Linked DNA regions of Homo sapiens: all the other regions are linked to region 4. Evidence: promoter capture Hi-C in 16 types of primary human blood cells and fetal thymus (Javierre and others, 2016). All regions are on one chromosome and are shown on one strand. Each heading gives the region's core, a stretch centred on a gene start or on the middle of the fragment in contact. The rest is flanking DNA. Distances are from core to core; before and after follow the strand shown. Region 1 overlaps ARHGEF9 (Cdc42 guanine nucleotide exchange factor 9). Region 2 overlaps ARHGEF9 (Cdc42 guanine nucleotide exchange factor 9). Region 3 overlaps ARHGEF9 (Cdc42 guanine nucleotide exchange factor 9). Region 4 holds the start of AMER1 (APC membrane recruitment protein 1).

What was found. Contacts are between HindIII fragments. The CHiCAGO score rates a contact against its expected background, and 5 or more counts as called.
Region 1: a fragment that was not itself captured here is called in contact with the fragment with the promoter of AMER1 in region 4 in 2 of 17 cell types (non-activated CD4 T cells and fetal thymus); the score reaches 7.4 in non-activated CD4 T cells.
Region 2: a fragment that was not itself captured here is called in contact with the fragment with the promoter of AMER1 in region 4 in 2 of 17 cell types (M2 macrophages and monocytes); the score reaches 5.3 in M2 macrophages.
Region 3: a contact is called between a fragment that was not itself captured here and the fragment with the promoter of AMER1 in region 4, in 1 of 17 cell types (monocytes). The highest score is 5.4, in monocytes.

What each region holds. Positions count from the first base shown.
Region 1 is chrX:63,746,683-63,749,397 of GRCh38, reverse strand. The region is part of intron 1 of ARHGEF9 (Cdc42 guanine nucleotide exchange factor 9); the gene reads left to right. Among named protein-coding and RNA genes, the nearest start is that of ARHGEF9, 37 kb to the left of the region's middle. The HindIII fragment of the contact is 1,287 bases long and covers 635-1,921 here.
Region 2 is chrX:63,766,642-63,769,402 of GRCh38, reverse strand. All of the region lies in intron 1 of ARHGEF9 (Cdc42 guanine nucleotide exchange factor 9), which reads left to right. It also overlaps the pseudogene BTF3P8. Among named protein-coding and RNA genes, the nearest start is that of ARHGEF9, 17 kb to the left of the region's middle. The HindIII fragment of the contact is 4,403 bases long and covers 1-2,761 here.
Region 3 is chrX:63,730,080-63,732,779 of GRCh38, reverse strand. All of the region lies in intron 1 of ARHGEF9 (Cdc42 guanine nucleotide exchange factor 9), which reads left to right. Among named protein-coding and RNA genes, the nearest start is that of ARHGEF9, 54 kb to the left of the region's middle. The HindIII fragment of the contact is 2,384 bases long and covers 184-2,567 here.
Region 4 is chrX:64,204,393-64,207,092 of GRCh38, reverse strand. AMER1 (APC membrane recruitment protein 1) reads left to right here and starts at 1,385. Exons shown (of 2, transcript NM_152424.4): 1 at 1,385-1,523. LOC112268307 reads right to left here and starts at 1,147. Exons shown (of 4, transcript XM_047442706.1): 1 at 1,009-1,147; 2 at 53-111. The coding sequence starts at 1,074. RefSeq lists an enhancer at 849-1,008 and silencers at 1,139-1,238, 2,219-2,278. The HindIII fragment of the contact is 4,951 bases long and covers 1-2,700 here.

The DNA.
Region 1 (2,715 bases), core at 29-2,528, 460 kb after region 4:
TTAGCCGGGCGTGGTGGCACACGCCTGTAGTCCAGCTACTTGGGAGGCTGAGGCAGGAGAGTCACTTGAACCCAGGAGGCGGAGGATGCAGTGAGCCGAGATCATGCCACTGCACTCCAGCCTGGGTGACAGAGCGAGAGTCCGTCCCAAAAAAAAAGAAAGAAAAGGAAACAAAAGAAAGAAAGGAGATTTGGGAGTCATCCCTGAAGTCATACTAGCTTCCTCAGCTACTCACATTTTTAATAACTTTCATTTGTATAGCACTTTTGCTCAGAATTTTCATTCTATAAAATGCCTTTTTGTCTTGAATATGCATCAAAGAGTTCTGTTTAGTTTTATGAAAACTCACTATTTGGGATCTTCAAGGTGAGAGGCCAGTGTGAATTGCTGAAGCCTAAAATACAGAATGTTTTCAAGGAACTGTAGTTTTAATACAATTGTTCTTCTCTTTGAAGCACACTTATTTTTCTATATTTCTTTAAAAATCTGCTGCCTAGAACTGTTCATGCTACTCTAGGTGCCACCTGACTGAGATCAAGTGCAAAAGAACTTTGTTTTGTCTGTGAAATGTCTAATAATGCAGCCTTCTACTGATTCTCAACCCTCACTGAACATTCAGATCACTTGGGAAGCTTTTTTTTAAATACCCATGCCAGGTCCCCTATCTGAAAGATTCTGATTTAATTTTCATGGGCTAGATCCCAGGGAGCTTTATTTATTTATTTTTTTAATTTAAAGTTCCCTAAGGTGATTCAAATGTGCAGCCAGGGTTAAGAGTTAGCCTTTTGAGCATGTAGGTCCAAACCATTTACTGTCTAGTCCAGTCCTCTACTCTCTTGTGAAGTTGGCCACTTCAGGGTTTTTTGAACCAAACTTGCTACATTTTATCTTGACATGTTGGTCCATTATTCTAGCTTTCTGTGGATTTTAAAATTTTTTCTTCATGCTGTGCTACAAATTAGCAGTCCCTTCTAGCACTGCATCAGTTAAATTCTATTTGTTTGGTTGGACTATTGTTCTAGCCTTTGGGAGGTTTTTATTTTTTTTCTTCATGTCACACAACAGGTTAGCAGCCTCTTCTAGTGTTGCATTATTTGAACACCAAATAAATGGCATTCGAGTCGTTGATTCAAAGAAATGTTTACTATGATATGATTAATGCTAGCTCTTCTGTCACCTCACCAGAGCCCCTCTTGGAGTTGGGACTTGTTAATTTTTGTATGTATCTGGTCAACCAGTGCAGACTGCACCTGGTTGTGCCAGCATTTATCCTACCAGGGTGTTAATGTGAATAACATAGCACGATAGATTTGTTGTATGCTTTGTGGGCATCAAGATATGCTAGGTTCATAGCAAGCATCTGCCAAACTGATAGCCCCATCAGAAAAAGCAGTATAAGTTACTTGGCCTCTTACTCATGGTAAATCTGGTTGCAGGCTCCAGAGCTTCTTGTTTTCTTTCTGTGCCTACAATGCAAATGTTTCTAAACTGGGTTCAGAACTTGGCTGAGGGTCAGTACTACAACTGTAGTTTCTGTGTATTACTTTCTCCTCTTTGAAAAAGCAGGACATAATGGATTTAGCTTTAAAACAGAATATATTTTGTGCTCAAAGAGTTCCGGAAATTCTTTGTGTATGTTTCTCTTGTTGTTTTGCTTAATTGTTTCCATTAACCCAGTGGTTCTCAGCACTGGCTGCACATCGGAATCACCTGGAATATTAAGAGTAACAACAATTCCTAGAATCTTTGGGAGAGATCTGATTGAGTTGATCATAGTGGTTTCCTGGCATCAATATTTTTCTAAGAGTTCCCTGAGGTGATGGGAATGTTCAGCCAGGGGTGAGAATGACTGCTATGGAATGCTTCATAGGAAATGTTAGCTCAGCCTGTCTGACTTATCACACATGTGACTAGGCAAGCTTCACAGATGGTGAAATTTTATTCTAGGACTGTGGGAGCCTCGATAAGTCCCAGGGGCTTGTGCTCACTCTAAAAAGGAGGAATCAACCCTAGGGAATGAGTAGTCTGGAGACCTAATTGTATTTAAAATAATCAGCTGTGAGATGGTTTGAACACTTCAGGAATAAAAAAAAAGTCAGTTCCTACACATTTGCTGTAATGATGGGGAAGATTCTGCTCATTTGCTAGTGACCTCAGGCAAATTACTTCTCTCCTCTGAAATTTGGTTTTCTTCATCAGCAAAATAAGGATAGGTGGATTTGATGACTTCAAAGATTTCTTCTAGCTCCAACAATATGTGCTTATTTTGTGATTAATATTAATGATCAACACGAGTACAGATATTATTTAAATCTAGCAGGTAATCCAGAGATCCATTTTAGCAGGTTTAGAATACACAGAGTGGTTTTAAGGATAGCAGTTTTGCCTTCTTAATTATACTTGGCTTAGGTTTCTTTTAGAACAAGTGAACTTAGGTTGTATTCTTTGAGCACACACTGGCCGCCAAGCAGGAAAGGAGACTGTATGAACACGCATTGGCTGCCAAACAGGGAAGGAAGTGGTACAGTGAATTGAGTAGCTAGGGTATGCCAGTTTGGGATTCTGTTTATTAAAGAGATATGTCATGGATAATTGAGAATTGCCTCTCATAGATATAATACCAGTCTCATAGGTCTGAAAAAGATGGATTGCTTTGACAGCTCAGAGCCCCTTCCTGCAGTATTTTAAGTAGCCATTCACTTGGTTAATAATACT
Region 2 (2,761 bases), core at 139-2,638, 440 kb after region 4:
ATGCTTTGCTTTTATTATAAAACTGAATGTCTTTAGTAGCACCCAAGTCACATCTTGAATGCTTTGCTGCTTAGAATTTTTTTTTCACCTGATACCCTAAATTTTTTTTTTTAAGTTTAGTTTCACAAATTTCTAGGGCAGGGGCAAAATGCCGCCAGTTTCTTTGCTAAAACATAACAAGAGTTACCTTTGCTTCAGTTACCAACAAGATCCTTATGTTTATCTGAGACCACCACAGCTGGACTTTATTGTTCATATTGCTATTAGCATTTTGGGCAAAGCCGTGTAACAAGTTTTTAGGAAGTTTTTAACTTTCCCACATTTTCCTGTCTTCTTCTGAGCCCTTCAAACTGTTTCAACCTCTGCCTGTTACCCAGTTCCAAAGTTTCTTTCACATTTTTGGGATTTTTTTTTAGTAGCACCCCACTCCCGGTACCAATTTACTGTATTTGTTTGTTTTCACACTGCTGATACATACATACCTGAAACTGGGCAATTTACAAAAGAAAGAGTTTTAATTGGACTTACAGTTTCACATGGCTGGGGAGGTCTTACAAGTATGGTGGAAGGCAAGGAGGAGCAAGTTACATTTTAAGTGGATGGTGGCAGGCAAAGAAAAAATGTACCAGCAGGGGAAATGCCAAATGTTTATAAAACCATCAGCTGTCATGAGAACTCACTCACTATTACAAGAACCATATGGGGGAGACTGCCCCATGATTTAATTACCTCCACCTGTCCCCTCCCTTAACATGTGGGAATTATTACAATTAAAGGTAAAATTTGCCTGGTGACACAGAGTCAAACAATATTGTATACATTAGTACAACCTCTATGGAAAACAGTATAGAGATTTCTCAAAGAACCAAAAGTAGATCTTCCATTTGATCCAGCTATCTCACTACTGGGTATCTGCCCAGAGGGAAAGAAGTCATTATATCAAAAAGACACCCACACACATATGTTTATCACAGCACAATTCACAATTGCAAAGATATGGAATTAACCTATGTGCCCAACAATTGATGAGTGGATGAAGAAAATATGGTATATAAACACCGTGGAATACTACTCAGCCATAAAAAGGGACTAAGTAATGTTTTTTGAAGTAACTTGGATGGAGCTAGAGGCTCTTATTACAAGTGAAGTAACTCAGGAATGGAAAATCAAATACTGTATGTTCTCACTTATAAGTGGGAACCAAGCTATGGGTACACAAAGGCATACAAAGTGGTATAATTGATATTGGAGACTCAGAAGGGGAAGGGTTGGAGGACAAAAAATAAAAAACTACATATTGGGTACAATGTACAATACTTGGGTGGCTGGTGCACTAAAATCTGACTTCACCACTATACAATTCATCCATGTAACCAAAAACCACTTGTTCTCCAAAAGCTACTGAAATAAAGAAAAAGTGCCTTGACATGCATGAATTCATGTAATCCTCACAACAACACTCTCCCTACTTTAAAGGTGGGGAAACTAAGGCTGGAAGAGGGGGAATATCTTCTCCATGCAACTATCTCCAAACAGAGCCAGAATGAAAACCAGGTGTGTAACACCATAGTAGTTATTTGGTCATTACTCTTCTCACTTGCCAGGAGTGAACGCTGCCCAGCCTCCTTCATTCTAGAGGTGAGGGGTACCAGGAATAAGGTTATAAATACAGTATGTCTTAAGAAAGATAGCTTACCTTTCCCAAGCCAGCGTTTATTTTGTGCCAGGCACTGTTCTAAATGTTTTTGCATGTGTATCTAATACAATCTTCTCAACAATCTTATGAGGTCGGCACAATTCTTCTTTTTTTAACTAAAGAACTTTATTAACCTTTGTCTCAAACTTTATTCCCAGGCTTCTTCATCTTAATTAGCTGCAAAGGGTGAATTGTTTATAAGCAAAAACTGAAAACAGCTGCAGTGTCCAAGGGGCTTGGGCTTAAAAATATTACAGAACTAGATTTTATCAGATCCATAAACAAAAATTTTTTAAAAGCAGTCATAATATAAAATAGCAGCTCCCAGTAACTTCTTCAAGTTTTATCTTCTTCAGAAGTTGACTCAATTCAGTTTGCCTCATTCTTGGAAGCCTCATCAAAATTTTCTACAAGATCTGGAACTTCATCATCGTCATCCTCTCCAGTAGCAAGTGGTGCTTTCCATCCACGTATTGTTTAGGCAGAGCTTCAGCCAGTCTCCTTAAACTAGCCAAACTGCACCAAGCTGGTTTAAGATGCTGCATGGCATTTCTGTCAGCTGCTTTGTCACAGCATGGCCTGTAATGGTGAAAGTGTTCACTGCTAGAGATGCCTAAACTTTAGGGTTGTTAAAGTGGATCACTGTTCCTTGGTTTGTAAACATATTCACCTCTTCAATACCAGAGACAGTGTTTACCTCTAACTTCTTTAAGGAGAACTGAAGTTTTTAATCATCTGCTGTGGCTGTTTTATGAACCACCTCCTTCTTTCTGTGAGCAGTTCCTTTCCTGCAGTTTGGTGGGTTTTCCTGGCCCATGATTGTTTCTTTCATCTTGTCGGAGTGGATGAGGGGCCGCGTGGGGGACTAGGGTTGGTGATCAGGGGTCTTGGATGGCTCAGCTGAGGTTAGGCACGCACATGCAGAGACACAAGATGGGAGATAGAGGGGCACAGTTCTTTAGTGAGGAAAATGCAGGTAGGGCATGGAGGAGAGGGACACTCAGTTCATACGCTGAGAAGACTCAAATGACTTTTGCCCTTTCTTCTTTCACCATTGTACATTCC
Region 3 (2,700 bases), core at 126-2,625, 470 kb after region 4:
GTTGAGCAGGCAGTAGGAAATGTGGGACTGGAGGTGAGTGACAGCTGATGTCATGAGAAGGATGCAAGAGACTCATTTTGACAAGAGTGGTGGAAAGCCCCTGCCTTGTTAGAGGTAAAGGTTGGATCCAGAGATGAGGCTAGATTAAGGAGAGCTTTGAGATAGTGGGGAGTTACTGAAGCTTCTTGAGCTTGAGGAGTGATACTAGCAAAAATGCTTTAAGATTCGCATCATTAAGGCATAGCTTGAGGAAGGGACAGACCTGTAAGGGCCAAGGAAGCCGGTTGGGAGACAGTTTGAGCTGATGAGGACCAGGATAAGACAGTGGGAATGAAGAGAATGCGTTGTATCTGAGAGGGAGAGACATGAAGAAGAAAGAAATAGCAGGGCCAGAAGATTTTCCTTAAATGGGAAAAATTGAGAAGGAGGGAGAATGGGGGAATATGATGAATTTTGCATTTTATTGGAGGTGGTAGCAGGCCATCCAGTGAAATGTGGAGCAGGCAGTAGGAAATATGGGACTGGAGGTGAGCGAGAACTGATGTCATGAGAAGGATGATTCATCTGAAGAACTAAGTGGAGAGAACAAAAAGCAAAGGTCCCTATTGACTTTTGAATGCGGCAGTCAAGGGTTTAAGTGGGAAGCCCACTTCTCAATTTTCCCAGGTAGTCTGACTGTGTTGCCAGCAATGCTTGAGTGAGTTATCTTCAGGAAAAAGTTCTCATTTTTTTGAGCAGAAAGCAGTAAAAGCATCCTATCAAGCACAAAGAAGGGTGAGGAGAATTAAGCTGCAATAATGACATCCCCGTCCTTTGCAGAGTAAGTGTTAGCCTCAGTAGAATACCAGAGCTGGAAGGGACTTGAGAGGTCATCTGTATGGTTCCAGTCTGTCACTTGACATGTAAAAAAACTGAGACGGGCTGGGTGCGGTGGCTCACGCCTGTAGTCCCAGCACTTTGGGAGGCCAAGGCAGGCGGATCACCTGAGGTCAGGAGTTCAAGACCAGCCTGGCCAACATGGTGAAACCCTGTCTCTACGAAAAATACAAAAAATTAGCCAGGTGTGGTGGAAGATGCCTGTAATCCCAGCTGCTTTAGAGGCTGAGGCAGGAGAATCACTTGAACCCGGGAGGTGGAGGTTGCAGTGAACCGAGATTGCACCACTGCGCTCCAGCCTGGGCAACAGAGCAAGACTCTATCTAAAAAAAAAAAAAAAAAAAAAAAAAACTGAGACAGGGAAAGGGACCTGTCCAAGATCATTTGGTGAGTTACTGGCAGATTTTCTTCCAATAGCCAATCTGAGTCTTTACTGTACACCATGGTACCTCATAGCTATTGTTGGGGCAGCCTGGTTCACACCTTCCCAAAAATAGGGAGGATGATTATCCTTCAACACTTTGGGCAAGATAGCCAGAGCGTTTTCAAGGCTGTATTAAAAGGAATCTAGCTTTTTCAGGAGAGAGCATAAAATCTCAGCTTGTTTTAGATATGCTTAAGGGAGCAAGGGAAAATAATTTGCTCTTGCCCAAGTTTAGCTGTTCAGGAGAAGGGGGCCTTCTGAGAGGATACGGGCAGACACCAACCTGAGAAAACCTCATAGGCAAACCCCTGTCATGTCCCTCCTTTTCCTCCTACGGAGCTTCTTGGAAGGCAGGTCCAGCTCATCTACCTTCATGGCAATTGGCATATTTGCTATTCCATACATGTGAGGTTCACATTTTTTAACCCATTCTCCCTTCTGCTGCTTCTTATTAAAACACTAATATTTCTGACAGCCACCAAGGCTAATTAAATGTCTATTTTGGGGGTGGTGCTGTTGAACTAGAGGGGAAGAACAAGAAGTTGTAGATAAGTGGCATGGCTCTAAAAGACTGGGTGACAGCCATAATCCCAAGTTTTTTCCTGTGTTAACACAGCCTGACATTGGGCATGCTGCTTACATGACCCCAAATACCCTTTTGCAGACATTTACCAACAACTGAGGAAGGCCTTGTAGATAGGAAGGGAGTGCTGGAGGCAGGGAGCACAACATATGGTGTGGCATGGGGAAATCTGTGAAGAATGAGGCATCAGAAGAGGCAAGGGTAGGGCCTACACTAGGACAGTCCATTAGGGCAGTGGTTCTCCAGATGTGATTCCCAGACCAGCAGCATCAGTATCACCTGGGGATCTATTTGAAATGCAGGTTCTCAAGCTGCACTTCAGACCTACCTAATCAATACTCAAGGCCTATGTGGCCCAGCAACCTGTGTTTTAACAAGACCTCTGAGGAACTGAGAATCACTGCTGTAGGTCATTCACAGGGTGAGCTGGTCCCCCTCCCTGCCATTTGACTGGTTCCATGGGGGACTGGCAAATAGCAAAGCTGTAGAGTAAGGCCAACTGGAGATTTAAATCTGCTCCACCACCTACTAACTGGGTAACTGTGGGTTACTTGTTTTATCTCACAAGTCATCTTCAGTAAAAATGGAGATGTTAATGCTTACATTGGAGAATTATAGAGGTTGAAATCACAAAAGAAAGCCCTTTATCCAGTTTGCAGCATATGTTTTCTACAAGTATAAGCTTCTCTTGCTTCGTCCTTCCCTTTATAACTCTTTTACTTTCCTTCTGTCTTTCCCATTTCTTCTTCTGTTCCCACTGAAAGGGTCCACTGGCCACCCCAAGCTCACTGCAAACACACATGCCTTTTTTGGTCAC
Region 4 (2,700 bases), core at 136-2,635:
CCATGTCAGTTCCTGTGCTCTACACATGCAGAGGCAGCAGTCCACCTCTTACCAGTTCAGCAGCTGGATCTTTTCAAGACTGTCAGGACCCAGAAGCAGCAGAGAACACTCCTGCAATGCAAAAATAGCACGCATTGTTCTCTAATCCTTCTCTCTATCCTCAGCTTTAATCCACCCACCTCCCTTTTTAGACACACACAGAGTTTTAGGGCTGGGCCTTCTGGATATTCTTGAACTAGTGGTGGAACTAGATTCTTTGCTGCCTCAGCTCACCTGGCCCTGGCAGCCACTGATGCCACTTAATGTCCTTAGGCTAGAGACCCAAGTTCGCCGGGCTCCCTGCCACATCCCACACACAGTAGCAGACAAGGCTGGTACAGGCCTCCTCACTTTGTCCTCAGCCTGACCTCCGGTTTGGGCCCAGACAAGATTTTCCTCTCAATATTTAGACTTTTCAAGGAAAAAGGCCTGCCGAAAGCCAGGCTCACAAAGGATGGGGGAAGGGGGACTCTGGAGACCTTGGGGATTCCCTCCACATTCCATAGAAGGTGCGAAATTTGGGTGAGGGTCAAACTATGGAAACAGGTATCATCTCAGAGAAGAAAAGTGAAAGCAATCCTGGAAAGGGAGCCCGGGGCTCTGGATTCCAAATTGGCCCTTGTCGCCGGCAGGCTGGGTAACTGTGGGGAGGGACTTTCCCCACTCTGGGCAGCAGAGGGCCCGTCGGTAACGGGTGGAAGTTGGCCTCTATGGTCTCTAAGGGCACTGGTGTGCCAGAGAGGCGGACGAAGTTAGGGCGCAGGCGCTGCAGCTAGCTTTCCTGGCAGGTGAGTCCCTCCTCTGGGTGGCCTGGCGGCGCGATCCGCAGGGCCTTGTCTCTACGACTAAGGATAGGCCGGCCCTTAGGTTTCTGCAGTCTTCCCAGATTCCTCAACCTCTCTGCCTCGTTACTCCCCGCCGGCCTCTAGCTCAGGAATAAACGTCCTGGTGGCGGCCAGGGCACAGTACCGCGAATGCACAGCGGCCACAGAAATGGGAGTGCGTGAAAACCGAAACCGATCCGGCGAGCCCCATCCGGGCAGGACTGGCTCCTTGAGGCCACGGTGTAGCCACGCCACTACCAGCCCGGCGTGGGGGCGGGAGTGGGGAGCCCCAGCCAGTGGTTCCGCACCCTCTCCGCCCCCTGCCAACACCACGCCTGCACTTATTTGCATTTAAAGAGAAACGCACCAAGGAAAACAGTGGGCGGGCCGGGGCACGCCTTCCCACCATAGCGATTGGGCCATATGCCTGCCAATCAGGACGCAGATGCCCCACCCGGTGGCCTTGGAGTACTGGGGGAGGGGGTATGGGGGAGCTACCCAAAGCCTGGGGAAGGGGAGTCAGTGCTGGAGGTGACTGGAGCCGCGGCGACGGCGGCAGCAGCTGCGGTGGCGGCGCTCTCAGCCGTGGCAGCCGAGGCTGCAGCCCGGCCCAGGGCGGCTCAGCGGACAATAACCGGGCTAGGAACCTGACCGGGCTGGGTAAGCGTTGCGTACAGCCAGGAGCCTCCGCCTGCCCGCGGTCGGGTGCATTCCCGCGTGCTCTGCTCCTACGGACTGGAGGAGGGCACTAAGGACTAGGCGGGTCGGAGTCCCGGTCGCTCGCCCCTCTCCTTTGGAACCCGCTTTGCGGACTGTCGGGTGGAGAGGCAGAGCGGCCTTGAGTCCCCTGGGCACAAGCGACCACGGCTGGGGGGAGGGGGGTTGGGGAGGGCGGGTAGGAAGGCAGGCTAGCCTGGGCCAAGCCTCCCGGCTTTCGGGGGGGCGGGGATGGGCCCGCACGTGCTGCCGCACAGTCCCGGGAAGGGCGCCGCCAGCCAGCACCCCAAGCCATGCATTTGTAGGCCAGGAGCTCTGCAGCTTTGTTGTAGCACATTTGCTGGAACAGCTGTGTAACGCGGGTACCGCTCACCCCTCTCTCCGGCTGCCTGGCTGCCGCCCCTCCCCTCCCCTGTGCATCTCCAGCCTCTCCCTCCTTTCTGCGGACTCAAGCTGGCGTGCTGGCTTGGGCCCGACGGAGACCGGCTTTGGCGTGGATTGGGACATCCACAGACTGCCCCCTCCCCAGAGGAGCTCAGTTGGGCCTGTGGGCTGAGCTCAGTCGCACACTTCCCTTCAGAACCTTGGCCTTGTGGCCCCAACTAGCCGCGCCCCTCCTCCTGGGCCTCCGGGCGCATCTGGCGCCCGCCCCCGCGGTCGGGCAGGCTGGCTGGCAGCCGGGCTCTTGCTGGTCCTTGGGTTAGAGCAGCGGCGCAAGCTAGTCCTTGAGTTAGAGCTGCAAGGCCGCTTTGTCTCCCGCCTCGCCTCGCCTCACCTCCTTTTCCCTTGGAGGATACTGGCCGCGTTTTCCTCTCCAGCCTCCCGTTTAAAAATAGCAATAGGCACGGTGTTTGGGGGGCATTTCCTTGCCAGAGGCCGAAGGAGCCCTCATTGTAGTACGGAACGTATCATACCATCTCTGTGTACAGGAGAGCTAGCGAGGTGGCCAAACCCTCCAACTTCGCAGTTACTTAACATACCCAGCCCGCCAGGCCCCTGTCATTGTCTGCTGGAGACACTTCTGACACTGGTGACCGCCCGAACGCTGGACTTTGCTTGGCTCCCCCGGTGGTGAGGGGCTGTGCCCGCTACATGCGTCACAGCCCAAGCGCCTAGGCGG